Regions from separate parts of the Homo sapiens genome. Here regions 1, 3 and 4 are each linked to region 2. Evidence: promoter capture Hi-C in human tissues and cell types (Jung and others, 2019). All regions are on one chromosome and are shown on one strand. The core of a region is centred on a gene start or on the middle of the fragment in contact, and the rest is flanking DNA. Distances in the headings are between cores, read along the strand shown. Region 1 holds the start of PRSS21 (serine protease 21). Region 2 holds the start of KREMEN2 (kringle containing transmembrane protein 2). Region 3 has its middle 2.3 kb from the start of TRR-CCG1-3. Region 4 overlaps SRRM2-AS1 (SRRM2 antisense RNA 1).

Region 1 (4,308 bases), core at 514-3,013, 150 kb before region 2:
CCCTGGGCAAAACCAGGAGCTGACACCTCCTAGGGGCCTCAGCGGATCCCTGGGACTCAGGAACCAGAGGGAACGTCCTGCTGGCTGGGAGAGGGGCAGGATCAGAAGCCCAGGGACCTTTGCCCCAACCCAGCAGGCCAAGGCCAGGCTGTGCATGTGACTTGTCCTTGAGCAGCTGCTGCTGGGGAAGGAGGCCCTGAGGGAAGGCACCGCAGCCTTGTGCTCCTGAAACCCGAAGCTCCCACACACCCGCTGCGCCCTCATTGAGTTCCCGTTGGTACCATGCTCTGTGCTAAGCATTTTATCTGTACTTTCCCCAAAGAAACTTAATACTTTTATTGGAAAACCAGAACGCCTAACCACACATTTTGCCTAATCTTTCATGTAATTAACCTTCCACTAGTGCAAGTGTTGAAAGTAGAATACGCTATTCCCAAGTTTCAAGTTGAGGGAGGCGGGATTCCCAGGTTCTGGTTGTACATTCCCATTTTCACTGATCTGTTCAGTGGTCAATGGATTCTTGGGTTGCTTTCATGTCAGCTACTGTGAATAATCCTGCTATGAACATGGGTATACAAATATCTCTTGAAGGCTGGGTGGGGTGGCTCACACCTTCACCCTGGCACTTTGGGAGGCCGCAGAGGGCAGATCACCTGAGGTCAGAAGTTCAAGACCAGCCTGGCCAACATGGCGAAACCCCATCTCTACTAAAAATACAAAAATTAGCTAAGCATGGTGGCAGGTGCCTCTAATCCCAGCTACTCTGGAGGCTGAGACAGGAGAATCACTTGAACCCAGGAGGCAGATGTTGCAGTGAGCCAAGATCGCACCACTGCACTCCAGCCTGAGCGATGGAGCAAGACTCCATCTCAAAAACAAACAAAACTAAATCCCCCCAAAAAACCAAAAACAAATATCTCTTGAAGACCTTCCTTTCAGTTCTTTTGGGTGTATGCTCAGAAGTGGAATTGCAGCTGGGCGCGGTGGCTCATGCCTGTAATCCCAGCACTTTGAGAGGCCGAGGTGGGCGGATTACCTGAGGTCAGGAGTTGGAGACCAGCCTGGTTAACATGGCGAAACCCCGTCTGTACTAAAAATACAAAAATGAGCCAGGTGTGCTGGCGCGCGCCTGTAACCCCAGCTACTTGGGAGGCTGAGGCAGGAGAATCGCTTGAACCCAGGAGGTGGAGGTTGCAGTGAGCTGGGATCACGCCAATGCACTCCAGCCTGGGCGACAAGAGCGAAACTCCATCTCAAAAAAAAAAAAAATTGTTCCAGAGAAGTGAAGAGAGCCCAGCGGGAGCCCGCAGTGGGGACAGCCTGGGCAGAGACTTGGGGAGATCCCCATTCTGGGTGGAACGGGCCGAGGACCACTGTTTTCCCAAGAAGGTCCCATGAAGGAGCAGCCATGCCTCTAGGCCCCACCCGGCCTTCAGGGGGTCCCCAGGCTTTAAGGGGACTCCTGGCTCAGGGCCAGGCCCTTGGTGCTGGAGGAGGTTGTAGGTGGAGGACGGGGTCACCAAGAGGGCAGCCGGGACCCCTGGGCTGCAGACAAGAAAGGGACTGTGGGGTCCACCGGGTCTGGGCCACATCAAGAAGTGTGGTTGAAGACCCGCCCCTAGGGGCTGAAAGCCAGGGCGCTGCCAGGCATGAGAGGCCCCAAACAGCCCTTGGGCCCAGGAGGGTGAAGCTGGGAGTAGAGGGCAGAGCTCCCACCCCGCCCCGCCCCCAGGGGGCGCCCCGGGCCCGGCGCGAGAGGAGGCAGAGGGGGCGTCAGGCCGCGGGAGAGGAGGCCATGGGCGCGCGCGGGGCGCTGCTGCTGGCGCTGCTGCTGGCTCGGGCTGGACTCAGGAAGCCGGGTGAGCTCGGGGCGCTGCTGGCGGGATGGGGAGGCGGGGGAGCGGTGGGGAGGACGGGAGGTGGAGGCCGCGGGGAGTCACTTCTTGTCTCCCGCAGAGTCGCAGGAGGCGGCGCCGTTATCAGGTAGGGCGCCCAGGACGCGCGATTCCTGCCAGGGCCGTTGGGCCGAGGTGGACGGGGGGCGGTGAGGGGGTAGAGGGGGGCCTTTACTGCTCTCTCGCCCCCGCCCCCGGGATCGAGAACTCTGTTGGCGTGGAAAGTAACTAACGGACGCTGGAGGGGGATGGGCGGGCCCTGCAGAGCACGTGGGAGGATCTCCAGTGTCACCTACTTCCTGCTGCACACACGCGAGGGGACCCTGGGTGGGCAAAAACGTGCTTTCCCGGACGGGGTTGAAGGGGAGAAAGGGAGAGGTCGGGCTTGGGGGGCTGCCTCCCGCGGCTCAGCAGTTCCTCTGACCATCCGAGGACCATGCGGCCGACGGGTCATCACGTCGCGCATCGTGGGTGGAGAGGACGCCGAACTCGGGCGTTGGCCGTGGCAGGGGAGCCTGCGCCTGTGGGATTCCCACGTATGCGGAGTGAGCCTGCTCAGCCACCGCTGGGCACTCACGGCGGCGCACTGCTTTGAAACGTGAGTGGGGGTGCGAACGGAGGGGTGCGGGGACGGGCAGGAACAGGGCTGGAGGGAGTGCCACCGAACTTTACCTCTGGTCTGATGCCAGACTTGGGCGTGAAAGTTGTGCGTGGATGCGGCCTGGTGTTCTCCTGAGCCCCAGGCTGTGCTGCAGCCGGTTACACCCACTCCAGTTCCCTTTGGGTCTCCTGGAGGGAACCCTGTTCAGGTTATTCCAGAATGTTCTTCCAGAACATTTCCACACACTTTTGGGTATTCTCTCCCTTTTTCTTTCAACCCAAAGTTCACCACTGACCATCCCACCCTCATCCCCCCTCCTGGTGGACGGTGCGGTACAGTGTGGGGCACTGAGCCAAGGCCAGCACCCCCGGGCCGCTGTGTGGACTCCATCCTGCCAATCCCACATTGGCGTGGTGCATCTCCCCATTCCTCCTTGGGCTGCATGGGGGTGCCCCTGGAGGCCTTGGCTCAATGCAAGGCTCCTTGGGACAGCTCTGGGAGGTGACAAGACCCCACCCTTCTGCTGCAGGAGCAGGTCCTAGGACTTTGGTTGTGGTCTGTCTGGGCTCCTTCATTTCTGCAGGGGACCCTGGGTGTTAGCAAGTAGCAGCAACACCACAGTTTCCCCTCCTGCACTGGACCCCAGTTGTGCTCAGGTAGCCAGCCCTCCATCCAGGGCCCCTGACTGCTCTCTTCTCTTCTGCCAGCTATAGTGACCTTAGTGATCCCTCCGGGTGGATGGTCCAGTTTGGCCAGCTGACTTCCATGCCATCCTTCTGGAGCCTGCAGGCCTACTACACCCGTTACTTCGTATCGAATATCTATCTGAGCCCTCGCTACCTGGGGAATTCACCCTATGACATTGCCTTGGTGAAGCTGTCTGCACCTGTCACCTACACTAAACACATCCAGCCCATCTGTCTCCAGGCCTCCACATTTGAGTTTGAGAACCGGACAGACTGCTGGGTGACTGGCTGGGGGTACATCAAAGAGGATGAGGGTGAGGCTGGGGACAGGCGGGTCAGGGAGGAACTGTCTTTGTTCACCTGTTCCCCTGCATAGGCACAATAGCCCCCTGCTTGGTCTGGGGGTGCAGGCTATGCCCCTCTTGCTTGCAGTCTCTCCTCACCTGCCAGGGCAGGGACCAAACACCCAGTTCTCTCCCTTCCAGGGGCTGTGGGGGCCAGAAGGAGAGTGTGAGAGGGAGGCCAGTTTGGCGCAGGCCTGTGGGTGGTGCGGTGGTGGAGGGGTTCTGGAGGGCTTGGCGACATAAACCTCATACTTGGATTTATTCCTGCATCTTTCCACCTCCCCCAGTGCTCACCAATGCCCCAGGCATCAGGCTCCTGGGCTGCCTCTCCATGCCTCCCACACCCACCCTAGCTCTGGCCGATTCTCCTGCAGCACTGAGCCCATTCCTCTCCCCAGAAACTTCCAAGCCATGCTCAACCGCAGCTCCCACGGAAACCCCTCTGGGGGTTCCTCTGGTGGGCCTGCCCTGGCACCTGCGTGTCCCCCAACACACATGCCCTGAAAGAAGTGGGCCCAGCATCCGGAGGAGCCCCGGCAGCCCCAGACTGGGCGTGTTCCCTGTATCAGGAATCCCTTCCCTCTGCTCCCCTGTCTGGCCCGTCCCTGCATCATCCCACAACAGTAGTAACAATAACAAACGTGGTTCCTTGAGCACACGCTGTGTGCCTGGCACTGTTCTAGACATGGGGGCCCAGCAGTGAGCCAGGCGCGGCCTCTCCTCCTGCTGGAGCTCACCTAGGAATGAAGTTGGTAACGTTCTTATACCCATCTTACAGATGA
Region 2 (4,041 bases), core at 1,159-3,658:
ACCTCTTTGGCTCCTTTCTCTCTGCCGCCCCCATGTGGCCAATCTGCACCTGTGCATCTGCTTCCCTCAGAGATGACATGCCAAGCCTGTCAGGCCCTAGGGACCCCAGGCCGACCCCTGCCCCAGTCTGGCCTCAGTCTCCCTGTCTGTGAAATGGGCTGCTGGAGATCCTGCTTCCAAAGTGTCAGCTGGCGGCAACGACATTCGAGGGGTGAGGAGCCCCTCAGAGCATGTGAGAGAGTATCTCTGTGTGCCCAGAGGTCCCTGAAGAATCAGAGACCCTGGAAGCGACATGGAGGCATGAATCAGCGCCCAGCCCCTGGATCAGACCAGGCGGAGCTTGAAGCCCAGTTCCAACGCTTAATAGCTGGTGACGCCCACGAGTCACCCAGTTACCACCTCTGCGCCCCATCTGCAGAATGGGGAGATGAGCCTGTCCCCTCTCGCAGGGCGTCAGGAGGGCAGACATGCCGCTGCTTGCAGAGCCCTGAGTGCCAAATGCTGGGGAAGTGGTGGGGGGTGGGCTTCTTAGTTCTGGAAGTTTCCGTGAGTGACCTGAGACTGAAGTTTGCCGCAGGGATACTCCACCCCACTCCATCTCAGTGCCCCAGCCTCAGCACTGAGCACCCACTTCCTCTCACCCCCTGCCCCCTCTGGAGGAGACAGGCCTGGGCCAACCGAACCGGGTGTCACAGTGCCAGGGACAGAGGGACGGTTCTTTCAGACCCTACTCTCTCAAGGGAAGGGGCTGATTCCTCCACCAGCGTCCCAAGCCGGCCCCCTTTCCGCACAGAGTCCTTAATTGTCCCTGTCGCCACCTTGCCCCATCCTCAGATGGCTGTGGCTGTGGGGGTGAAGCTCCCCACGCACCGCCATTGTGCAGGCCTGCCCCTAGGACATCCTCTGTGGACTGGAGCCCGGGAGGACTTCACTGAGCCCCCGCCAAGAGAAACCGGGCAGACAGGTGGTCCCGGATGCTCCCTCGTCGGGAAGCGCAGTTGGGTTCCAGGGAGCCCGTGGGTGCTGGAGGCCCCAGCTCAGGGCTCAGTGAGCCGGGCCAGCCTGGCCTCTGAGAGGGCTCCCGGAGGAGGCGACCAGGACCCTGGCCTAGAGTCTCAGCAAGTCCATCTCCTTCAAATGCCCCCACCTCGGCTCCACGCCCCTCCTCCAGAGCACACTCGCGTGAGGCGCCAGCTGGAAGATCCTCGCGGGTCCCAGCACCGCAGTGGGTGCCTGGGCCTGACAGAACCTCCCTGAACCCCATCTTTCTTCTCCATCGACACCGGGGCAGAGACGGTGTGGGGGCTGCAGGGCGGGGACTGGTCGGCCTGGGCTCGACAGCTTGGCGAGGGCCTGGTGCGGGCTGGGCAGGCTGGACTGAGGGGCAAAGAGGTCTGGGCGGGGCGGGGCCGCTCTGGGCGCCCGGCCCCCACCAGTTCCTTCCCCCGGCCCCCGCCTCCGCCCTCCCACGCACCTGCGCTGGCCTCCCCCCAAGCCCTGGGGGCAGCGGGCGGGTGGCGCTGGGAGATCAGAGGACTCGGAGGAGTCGGGCCCAGGGGGAGGGGGCGGGGAATTTCCCCCCACGCCTGCCTGGGCCTGCTCCCCTCCCCCTCCCCCGCCAGGTGGGGGGCACGGCTGGGGGAATTCCACTGCAGTGTGAAGGCTCGGGAGAGTCTGGGCTGGGGGTCCCAGGGAAGGGCGGGGCAGGGGGAGGAGGAGGGGACAGACTGGGACCTGGGGCGCAGCTGCCTTTCTCCCCAGACACCAGCTGCCCCTGCCTGTCCCGGACTGAGCGTCCACGACTCCCGCCTGTCTCGTGGGCGCGGGGGCAGGGAGTGGAGCTTCCTCCGTCAGGCCAGCGGCATCTGGACCAGGGGCGGGAGGGGCGTGCGGATCCGAAGAAAGTGTGCGCGTGAGCGCCTGGCAATGAATGGGAGAGAGTGCGAGCGCGTGCGTGCACTGGGAGGAGGGCGCTTGTAACTCGGACATTCCGGGTGTCCTGGGGCGCGTGCGACCACGTGAGGGGGTTCTGTATCTCCCATTTTAAGGGCCTTCCGTCCGCTTGCCCCGCCTGTCCCCCTCCACACCTTCCCACTTGAACCGGCACCGACCTGAGGGAGAGGGGGCCGGGAAGCGCTGGACGCCCGGGGTCGGGGGAACGGGCGTGGGAGGCGTCTGGACCTGCTGCCTCCGCTCCAGTGCTGGGCGGGGCTTCCCGGCCTCCCATGGGGGGAGGGAGAGACCCAGGGGGAGGGACCCACGGAGGGATGCGAGGCGGGCAGGAGTCAGCCCGTTGGAGACCTGGGCGAGGGAGACGCCGAGAGCTAGGCTCAGTGGGAGGGGGCGGGCGTAGAGGCTGAGGCACCGCCCAGAGCTCGCTGAGACAGAGACTGAGAACGCCCCCGGCCAGATTCCCCCCGGAGAGACCCGGGTAGGGACAGGGACAGAGAGACGCCTCTAGGGGCAGAGGCCCTGGGAGGCAAAGACCCCCAGGAGAGATTTACCCACCCCAGACGGAAAGCGCGGCTCAGAGTCGGACGAGGGGAGACTGTCAGAGGACAACGCCCCCTAGGTCTCCTGGGAGACCCCGAAGCGACCCCGGGGGCAGCCCGGGCCGTGTCCGGGCGAGGGTGACCTATCCTTGGTTGAGAGCGATGGGGACACAAGCCCTGCAGGGCTTCCTCTTTCTCCTCTTCCTCCCGCTGCTGCAGCCGCGTGGGGCCTCGGCTGGGAGCCTGCACAGTCCAGGTAAGTCCCCGCACGGCTGTCGGGCCGTGTTCACCACCCCTTCCTCGGCCTCCGCCCCCAGGGCCAGGCCCCCAAGGCTAGGGAGGGGGACAGAGCAGGTGGCCGGAGCAGCTGAGCAGCCCGAGGGCTCCTGCAGGGGCGGGTGCGGGGTCGCTGGCTGGGGACCCAGGCGGGAGGTGGCGTAGGGGCGCGAGGATGCCCGGCGTGGGTCCGGACCTCCCCAGGCCCTGCCTTTGCCGTGCAGGCCTGTCCGAATGCTTCCAGGTGAATGGGGCTGACTACCGCGGCCACCAGAACCGCACTGGCCCGCGCGGGGCGGGCCGCCCGTGCCTCTTCTGGGACCAGACGCAGCAACACAGCTACAGCAGCGCCAGCGACCCCCACGGCCGCTGGGGGCTGGGCGCGCACAACTTCTGCCGGTGAGGGGCGGGGCCTGCGCTGGGGGCGAGGCTGGGCTCACCATTGCAGGGATGGCCCGAAGCGGGGCCTCCGTGCGGGCGGGGTGGAGGTCTGCCGTGGACTGGCAGCCCAGCCTCCTGGAGAACCTGGGGGCGGGGCCAGAATGAGGGGCGGGGCGGGGCGGGGCGGGGCGCGCGGAACCCTGGCGCAAAAGGGATCCTCCTCAGGTGAACAATTTCTGCAGAGCTCCAGTTCAGGGCCAGGAGAGAAACGGACCTGGGCACTCAAAGGACCCGTATGGGCGGGGCCTGGTCAGAGCGGGGGCCGAATGGGCGGGGCCTTGTCAGAGTGGGGCTCTTGTCATACAACTTATTTTGGGGTTCAGAGCCACAGCTACGGTCTGAGGCAGGATGGACCCAGCGGGAGGAGAGCCGCAAAGCTCAGGAGCTCACTTCTGCTTTTAAGTGGGGTTGGAGGCCAGGCGCGGTGGCTCAGCCTGTAATCCCAGCACTTTGGGAGGCCAAGGCAGGCGGATCATCTGAGGTCAGGAGTTCGAGACCAGCCTGGCTACCATGGTGAAACCCCATTTCTACTAAAAATACAAAAAATTAGCGGGGCATGGTGGCGGGCGCCTGTAATCCCAGCTACTCAGGAGGCTGAGGCAGGAGAATCGCTTGAACCCGGGAGGCGGAGCTTGCAGTGAGCAGAGATCGCGCCAATGCACTCTAGCCTGGGTGACAGAGCGAGACTCGTCTCAAAAAAAAAAAAAAAAAGTGGGGTTTGAGGGACGGAAGTGGCTGAGGCCCATGCCGGGTGGGGGTGAAGAATACAGATGGCCTCAAAGTCCTCATATATGGAGTCAAGTCTAGCAACAGCTGAAGCCTAAAAACAGCT
Region 3 (4,164 bases), core at 77-2,576, 180 kb after region 2:
TCCAGGGTCCCCGAGGCCTTCCTCACTGGCTGGTTCTCTGGCCCCCCCGCCCCCTCCCCAGCTCAAAGCTTTAGCTCCAAGTCTTGGTTTCCCTCTTGGCTCCCAGCAGCCCACTCCACTCTCCTCACACCTCTCAACTTCTTGGTGCGGCTTCCCCACGAGGGCAGGAGGAGAACTGGCTCCAGGAAGCTGGGTCTCTATGTCACCTCTAAAGAGGCCATGCCAAGGCCTTGCAGGAGGGAGTTAGAAAAGGGCTTCTGGCCGGGTGCAGTGGCTCACGCCTGTAATCCCAACGCTTTAGGAGGCTGAGACGGGTGGATCACTTGAGATTAGGAGTTTGAGACCAGCCTGACTACCATGGTGAAACCTCGTCTCTACTATATAGACAAAATTAGTAGGGCATGGTGGTGCGTGCCTGTAATCCCAGCTACTTGGGAGGCTGAGGCAGGAGAATGGCTTGAACCCAGGAGGCCGAGGTTGCAGTGAGCTGAGATTGTGCCACTGCACTCCAGCCTGGGCGACAGAGCAAGACTCTGTCTCAAAAAACAAAAACAGGCCGGGCACAGTGGCTCACGCCTGTAATCCCAGCACTTTGGGAGGCCGAGACAAGCGGATCACGACGTCAGGAGATCGAGACCATTCTGGCTAACACAGCGAAACCTCATCTCTACTAAAAATACAAAAAATTAGCCGGGTGTGGTGGCATGTACCTGTATTCCCAGCTACTCAGGAGGCTGAGGCAGGAGAATCGCTTGAACCCAGGAGGCAGAGATAGCAGTGAGCCGAGATCGCGCCACTGCACTCCAGCCTGGGTGACAGAGCAAGACTCCTTCCCAAAAAAAAAAAAAAAAAAAAAGAGGGCTTCCTCCCTGGACCTGTGAGTGGCAGGCGGTGGGAGGCCAGGTGGGGCAGGGTCTGGGAAACCTTGTCAGCCTCACAGAGGGCAGCCAGTGGCTGGGGAGGCGGTGGCTTTGGCCCAGGCCTCAACATTGTTCCCACCCCAGGCTTTCCAGGAGGAGCTGGCCCAGTTCCGGGAGCAACTGGACACCTGCAGGGGCCCTGTGAGCTGTGCCCTTGTGGCCCTGATGGCCCATGGGGGACCACGGGGTCAGCTGCTGGGGGCTGACGGGCAAGAGGTGCAGCCCGAGGCACTCATGCAGGAGCTGAGCCGCTGCCAGGTGCTGCAGGGCCGCCCCAAGATCTTCCTGTTGCAGGCCTGCCGTGGGGGTGAGCGGCCCGGCCTCCTACTGCCCTCACTTTCCTCGGCCAAGCTTCAGCCCCCGGGACTCACTGTCTACCTTCTCCAGGGAGCCCGGGTACCTGCCCTTCCCTGCCCCCTCTCCTGTCCTCTCCTAGAGGTCAAGTCCACGACCTTGAACCCTTAACTCTCAACACCTGTCATTCAGCGCTCTGAATGTCTCCAGTCTGGCAAGCCTGCCCTGGAGCTCTGGAGTTGGGTTCTCACCTTGACCCCACATTCACACTAGACCCCTGAGCACCCCCAGGTATCCCCGGAGTGAGACTATCTGCCTCTCCCCACCCTCTTCAGGAAACAGGGATGCTGGTGTGGGGCCCACAGCTCTCCCCTGGTACTGGAGCTGGCTGCGGGCACCTCCATCTGTCCCCTCCCATGCAGATGTCCTGCAGATCTACGCTGAGGCCCAAGGTGGGTTCTGCCTTCCTTCCAGGGCCTGGGCTTGGGCAGGGCTGGTTGTGGGGACCGTCCAGAGAGCATCTCCAGGGCTCTAAGCTGGGGTATGGCTGCCACCTGCATCCTCTGTTTGCCAAGACAATGGGAAGAAAAAAAATCTTCCTAAACCGCAAGGGCCTTTGGGAAGTGGGAGCTTCTTCCCCTGTTGGAGCCTGGCAAGAACCCTGGAGTCGGTAAGGTCAAATAGCTTTTCTGAGGTCACAGCTGTTAAGTGGCTGGGCCGAGCTTTGAACTTCCGTCTGTCATTCCTGCCCTGCACTCTTTCCACCTCCCTGGGCTGCCCTTAAGCCACAGATGGGGAGCTCCCGGGGCTGATGGAGTTCCACGATGTTGATCACTGGAATTGATTCCTCTTGCAGGCAGCTCCTGCAGGGGCACCCCTCCAGGGAGCTCTGACCAAGCAGACATCCTGACGGTCTACTCAGCCGCAGAGGGTAAGGAGATGGGTCATCGGGAGCCTGTGGTTACACAGGGCCCAGCTTCCTGGCCTAAGATCTGGAGTAGCCTTAGGGGCAGCTAGGGCTTAGGGTTGGGGCACAGAGATGCCAGCCCAGCTGTGGTCCAGCCATGTTCCCTACATGGGTTAGGATGTGTAGTAACAGCAGTGATGGTGAGTGCTGTGAGGCGCAGCTGTGCCAACCACTGTGTGTGCAGGTTTCCTCTAGGCTGTGAGTTCCACGAGGCCAGGGTAGACCTGCCTGCCCCAAGGCCCTGCTCAGTGTCTGGCACATAGTAGGTGCACAGTAAATGTTTGTTCAGTAGTGAATCTCTCCATAGGCTCACCTCTGCAAATACCTAGCAACAACTTGTTCCAGATGCAAGAAGTCCCTGCTCCCTGCCCTGTTCTCTTGCCTGATTCCTGGGTCCTGCCTCCTTGTACCCCACTTTCCACCAACAATAGGACCCCTGGGATTGGAAGGCAGAGGGTTGGGGCCTTGGTCTGATGCTCTGGCCCTGATCCCCTGACCTAGGCTATGTGGCCTATCGCGATGACAAGGGCTCAGACTTTATCCAGACACTGGTGGAGGTCCTCAGAGCCAACCCCGGGAGAGACCTTCTGGAGCTGCTGACTGAGGTGTGTTGGGGGGTTCCAGGGTGACAAGTGGCAAGGAGCTGGGTTTGCCCTTCTCCCCAGCCCTGGTATTCTGATCACCTCCTATGAACTCCATTGGCGAAGGAGGGATCCTCTGCCCTCAATACTACAAGATAACCAAACGCAGGATGGCCGACGCTGCACAGATGCCATCCACTGCAGTTCTTAGTCACACGTACTGCAGTCGGGTGGGGAGGAGGACACTGCATGTCATGCGGGGCCACCTGGGCTTGTGCTCAGAGCAGGGTGAACCTGCAGGGCCAGTGGGAAGCTGGCTTTGTAGTGACAAGAGAGTGAGATGCCCCCTGGTTCCCACGGGCAGATGTGGTTGGTTGGTTTGAATATTTCCAAGGCCTGTCAGGGGGCTGAAGTCCATTAGGGTGACGACCAGGTGGGGTGCAGCTGGTCTGCTGAGAGGGGACCTAGGGGGTGGGAGCCTGTCCTGCTGGGTGGGGACATGTCTGGCCAGAGCAGAGGAATTCACCGTTAGGCCTCTGGAGCTCTGCGAGCCTCAAAGATGTCCAGGCAGTCCTTGAAATTTTAGGCCTTGCAATGTACCAAGCCAGGGGCTCTCCCCTGGGGCAGGCTGAGCCCCGGAGGGCTGTAACCCCGGGCGCAGGCTGGGTGTGGTCCTCAGGTCAACAGGCGGGTGTGCGAGCAGGAGGTGCTGGGCCCCGACTGCGATGAACTCCGCAAGGCCTGCCTGGAGATCCGCAGCTCGCTCCGGCGCCGGCTCTGCCTCCAGGCCTGAGGGTGCGGCGGCCACGGGGGCGCTGCTGAGACGGTGGCCAGATCCCAGCGCCATTCTTGCCTCCATCCACCCCCCATCCCCCCGGTTTCCTCATCTGAGAGCGAGGCGTGGCAGCGTGGGGGTGGCCGTGCAATAAATATCTGCCGTGAACAGTGCCTGTTCTCAAGGACGTGTGAAATAAGTGAGATAATGTGTGTAAAGCGCCTGGCACTGCATATGGACGCAATAGTGTCCATGGGAACCGAGTTGGGGCCTGTGCCCAGCTTCCGGGACTTAGGAACCCAACATGGGCTGGACTGGGCTGGGCTGGGTTGGCAGTTCGGTTATGGGAGCGTCCAGGGGGAGAGGGGTCCCAGGAAGAGGACGCATATCCCTCTCCCAGACATGTCCCTGTGTATGCGCGCCCCACCTCCACCCCGCGCTGGGCCATAGAAACTCAGGAGACACGGCCTCCGCTTTCCAGGCGGCCAGAATAAAGTCTGGGGCCAAAAGCCTCTGAAACACACCTTTGCAGGTTCACCGTGATGGAGCAAGCACAGGGGCTGGGCAAGCAGCTTGCAGCCCCTGACCCAAAGCGGCGGGAGGCACATGGGGGAAAGCGCTCCCAAA
Region 4 (4,076 bases), core at 329-2,828, 230 kb before region 2:
CAGAAATGGCGCCAGCCTGAAACCACCAGCCCTAACGAGAGACTTTCCACTCTAACCGTCGAGTTGTTTTCCTGGGTTTGCTTCTGCAAATGCTTGGTAAGTGTCCCCCTGGCTCTCCCTGAGAGTGCTAGTCACCCACAGTCTTGTGATAGGAGGGTTCATTGAGCAATACATGCTCAAATAAACTTTTTTTCTTTTTAAAAAATTTTTAATAAATAGAGATAAGGTCTCACTCTGTTGCCCAGGCTGGTTCCAAACTCTGAAACTCAAGTGATCCTCCCACCTCAGCATTCCAAAGTGCTAGGATTACAGGTCTGTGCCACCACACCTGGCCTCAAATAAACTTTCTTATTTTTTAAATTTTTTCAAATAAACTTTTTTTTTTTTGAGACGGAGTCTTGCTCTCTTGCCCGGGCTGGAGTGCAGTGGTGTGATCTTGGCTCACTGCAACCTCCACCTCCCAGGCTCAAGTGATCCTCTGGCCTCATCCTCCTGAGTAGCTGGGTCTACAGGCACGCACCACCATGCCCAGCTAATTTTTTGTATTTTTGGTAGAGATGGGGTTTCACCATGTTGGCCAGGCTGGTCTCAAATTCCTGAGCTCAGATGATCCACCTGCCTCAGCCTCCCGAAATGCTGGGATTACAGACATGAACCACTGCACCCAGCCCGTTTGCCTTTAAAAGCCTGCTTGTGGCCAGGCACGGTGGCTCACGCCTGTAATCCTAGCATTTTGGGAGGCCGAGGGAGGCGGATTACTTGAAGTCAGGAGTTCCAGACCAGCCTGGCCAGCATGGTGAAACCCCGTCTCTACTAAAAATACAAAAAAATTAGTCAGGCGTGGTGGTGGGTGCCTATAATCCCAGCTACTCGGGGGGGCTGAGGCAGGAGAATCGCTTGAACCCGGGAGGCGGAGGTTGCAGTGAGCCCAGATCCCACCACTGCACTCCAGCCTGGGGAGACAGAGGGAGATTCCATCTCAAAAAAAAAAAAAAAAGCCTGTTACAAAGGCTGAACGGAGCTCATATTCCAATTCTGAGTCTCCCCGGTGGTTGTCTTCACCTTGGCCCAGGCGAGCTCTACTTACAGGGATTTTTGCCTCGCTTTCTTCTTTGGGGGCCCCTACCTAACTCATGACGTTCCCTTCTCTCAGAGCATAGGAACTAGGCCCTGGCTGCTTCAGGCTGTTCTCCCTATCTCAGGATGTTGCATTTCCAGCACGTTCCACAGTTATTCTTGGGAAACACAAGCAGGAAAGGGATTTACCTGGGTGGAATCGCAGTGGCTGAAAAACTGTGGCGGCCCCTGCAAGGAGACCCAGGCTTCCCTGGCTTCCGAGGGCCCATGGTGGGCATCCACCATTCACAGCAAGGTTGGGGGATGCTCAGTGCCTGGGAGCCATCAGTCTGGAAGGCTTCCTGGAGGAGGCGAGACTTAGGCCAGTGAGGTCAGTGACTGGGGGGCATCCCGGGAGGGCCCAGCAAGAAGGGGACAGGGCCCTGGAGAACAGGATGAGGCAGAAGCAAAGGTACAGCCTCCCAGAGGCCCAAGGCGGGGTCCCACTGACCCCTTTCAGGCCAAGGGCAGCAGGAGGTGGAAACCTCAGGGGCCCCCATAGTGTCCAGGCTGGTTTCCAGGCTGAGGGGCTCAGGGCGTGAGGCCTGAGGGGCCCAAGTGGTCTGAGATGACCCAAGCTGGGCAGCCCTGGTAAGGTTACGTGGTGGGGGTGGAGAGTGCTTGGGTGAGGTGGGGTTGGAGCTGGGCCTCAAAGGACCCAGAACCCTGAGGTTTGAAGCCTGGATATGGCAAAGCGTCAGGTATACCATAGGCACTCAATCATTGTGTGCTCGACAAATTTTTGTGTTTTTTTTTAACCCTGAAGTTTACTTTGTTCATACTCAAAATTTAAAATGTGCTGAGCCTGCTGCCCCAGGATGTTCCTGTGCAGGGTGAGCCTCTCATTCTGTGGGGTCCAAGAGCGGGTTCTGCCAGGCCATCTCACAGCTCCCTCCCATGGATGGGTACAGGAGAAAAAAGCAGCATCAGCAGAGGCCTTGCCTGCAGGAGGGCGACAAAAGGCAACAAAAGGAGGGAGGGGGCCTCAGGGTCTTAGAGAGCCGAGCTCCAGTCCTAGCCTTGACCCCAGCCTCCCACACCCATCCTGGGCCTCCCTCTAACTCTCGGGCCCTGCACTGCCCTAGGGACCCCCAGCCAGGCCCTCCCCAGCTGAGGCAGTGCTCTCTCCTGACCTGCAACTGGCTTCTTCCTGATGCCCCACCTATTCCTCGCAAAGCAACCTTGGAGGCAGTAATGCCTGGCACCCAGCTCTTCACAGCCATGTCAGCGTCAGGAGTGACCTCAAAGGCTCTAGAGACGGAATCTGGATGGGGGAAGAATGAACCAGGTGACCTTGGTGACCCCATGCCCACCCCACAGATTGGGCACGTGAGGGACTGTGGGGATCTAGGTCCCACCTGAGAAAAACACCCAGACCCTCAAGATGGCCCCATCCCACCAAACTCAGTGGGGAGAACAGGCCCTGAGCCAATCCCCAGTCTCAGCAGGGGGATGGAGGATAAGGGGTCTGTTGGGTGAATGTGGGAGGAATGAGCCAGGGGATGTCAGTGACCCATGACCTCTGCCCCCCACAGACTGGGGATGTGAGGGGCTGTGTCCCATTAAACACTGGGGCAGGGACCAGAAAAAAACACTGGGACCCTCGAGATGGCCCTGTCCCACCGAGCTCAAGGGGAACAGACCCTAAGGCAGGCCCCAACCCACTCTGCCCTCTGTAGGGATCTCCTGGTGGCCTCAGGGTGGTGACTTTGCCCCTCTGGGCCCTCCCTCCCACAAGCCATGGGGACCACACCCTCCACCCCCAGGCTGGCAGGACAAGCCAGGGGGACACGAGGAGGCTCTCAGAGCAGGACTGGCTGGTGCGGGCCTCACAGTGAGAGCCAGGCATGCTCCAGAGGGGTCTCCAAGCTCTGGGGTCAGGGTCCCTCTGAGTCCCCAGGCACTGCCCCCACTAAACCTGAGAACCCAGCACGGGGATGGAGGCTGGGGGCCTGTTGGGTCCCGTAACATCTCCAGGCCTGTAGCTGGGGACACAGCCTCCTCCATCCATCCTAGGCCCACCTGGTACTCTTCCATCCAACCCCACCCGTGTCCCACTCCCAGCCTAGGCCCTCCCCAGGAGTCTCCTGGTGACCGGAAGCCTCTTTCTGATCTTCTTCACTGGGATGCTGGCCCTTTGGCTGAGCAATATCCCTGGAACCAGAGCGATAGCAAAACACATTATTGACTCCGATGACATACAGATTAGACATTCTCATGGGACAGCCTGGATGGGGGAGGAATGAGCCAGGTGATATCAGTGACCCCATAACCTCTGCCCCCCAACAGACTGGTGACATGAGAGTATGGAAATCAAGGTCCCACCACATGCTGGGGCAGAGACCAGAGAAAAACAGTGGGACCCTTGAGATGGCCCCATCCCACTGAGCTCAGCAGGGAGAACAGGCCCTGAGCCAGGCCCCAACCCCCTCTGCCGGGACCTCCTGGTGACCTCAGGGCGGTGACTTTGCCCCTCTGAGCCCTACTTCCTACAGGCCATGGGGACCGCACCCTCCACCCCTAGGCTGGCCGGAGGAACCAGGGGGACACGTGGAGGCTCCCTGAGCAGGACCAGCTGGTGGGGGGCCTCACAGTGAGAGCCAGGCACAGAGGGAGCTCCAAGGTCTGGGGAACAGTGTTTCTCTGAGTTCCCTGAAATTGCTACCACCAGGCCTCTGTTCTCCCCAGTAGGGGAACAGAGGCTGAGGGGCCCTCCAGGTTCCCTGAGAGCTCTAAACATGTGGCCGGGGTCCCCCCATCTCAGGTGTCCTGGAATCTCAGCCCAGGGGGAAGCATTTTCATCCCCACGCCTTGTCACAGGGCATGTTATTCTTATGTGACCTGGAGCCCCCCGTCCACTGGGGAAATAACCACTGTCCTGCTCCTGTCCTGGGGGCCTGGTGGCTGGAAGTAGTCAGGGCCCGGCTGGTTGTAAGGTGAGATCTTGACCTTCACCCTGG

The links. The method cuts DNA at HindIII sites, captures the fragments that hold promoters and counts their contacts. A contact is called where the count stands out against the background at its distance.
Region 1: a contact is called between the fragment with the promoter of PRSS21 here and the fragment with the promoter of KREMEN2 in region 2, in 2 of the 25 tissues and cell types used here (lymphoblastoid cells and mesenchymal stem cells).
Region 3: a contact is called between a fragment that was not itself captured here and the fragment with the promoter of KREMEN2 in region 2, in 1 of the 25 tissues and cell types used here (spleen).
Region 4: a contact is called between a fragment that was not itself captured here and the fragment with the promoter of KREMEN2 in region 2, in 1 of the 25 tissues and cell types used here (dorsolateral prefrontal cortex).

The regions. Positions count from the first base shown.
Region 1 is chr16:2,815,474-2,819,781 of GRCh38, forward strand. PRSS21 (serine protease 21) reads left to right here and starts at 1,764. Exons shown (of 6, transcript NM_006799.4): 1 at 1,764-1,859; 2 at 1,957-1,983; 3 at 2,328-2,493; 4 at 3,204-3,496. The coding sequence starts at 1,796. RefSeq lists silencers at 1,632-1,911, 2,022-2,081. The HindIII fragment of the contact is 10,567 bases long and covers 116-4,308 here.
Region 2 is chr16:2,961,867-2,965,907 of GRCh38, forward strand. KREMEN2 (kringle containing transmembrane protein 2) reads left to right here and starts at 2,409. Exons shown (of 9, transcript NM_172229.3): 1 at 2,409-2,748; 2 at 2,993-3,167. The coding sequence starts at 2,655. RefSeq lists enhancers at 1-643, 644-1,641, 1,128-1,257, 3,226-4,041, 3,788-3,907 and silencers at 1,338-1,417, 1,448-1,577, 2,128-2,207, 2,738-2,987, 3,058-3,427. The HindIII fragment of the contact is 31,540 bases long and covers 1-4,041 here.
Region 3 is chr16:3,146,254-3,150,417 of GRCh38, forward strand. It overlaps the pseudogene CASP16P. Among named protein-coding and RNA genes, the nearest start is that of TRR-CCG1-3, 2.3 kb to the right of the region's middle. RefSeq lists an enhancer at 3,494-3,543 and a silencer at 4,144-4,164. The HindIII fragment of the contact is 3,003 bases long and covers 1-2,828 here.
Region 4 is chr16:2,735,231-2,739,306 of GRCh38, forward strand. SRRM2-AS1 (SRRM2 antisense RNA 1) reads right to left here. Exons shown (of 6, transcript NR_027275.1): 4 at 3,212-3,270; 5 at 2,250-2,380; 6 at 1,846-2,058. Among named protein-coding and RNA genes, the nearest start is that of SRRM2-AS1, 15 kb to the right of the region's middle. RefSeq lists an enhancer at 3,350-3,927. The HindIII fragment of the contact is 8,627 bases long and covers 1-4,076 here.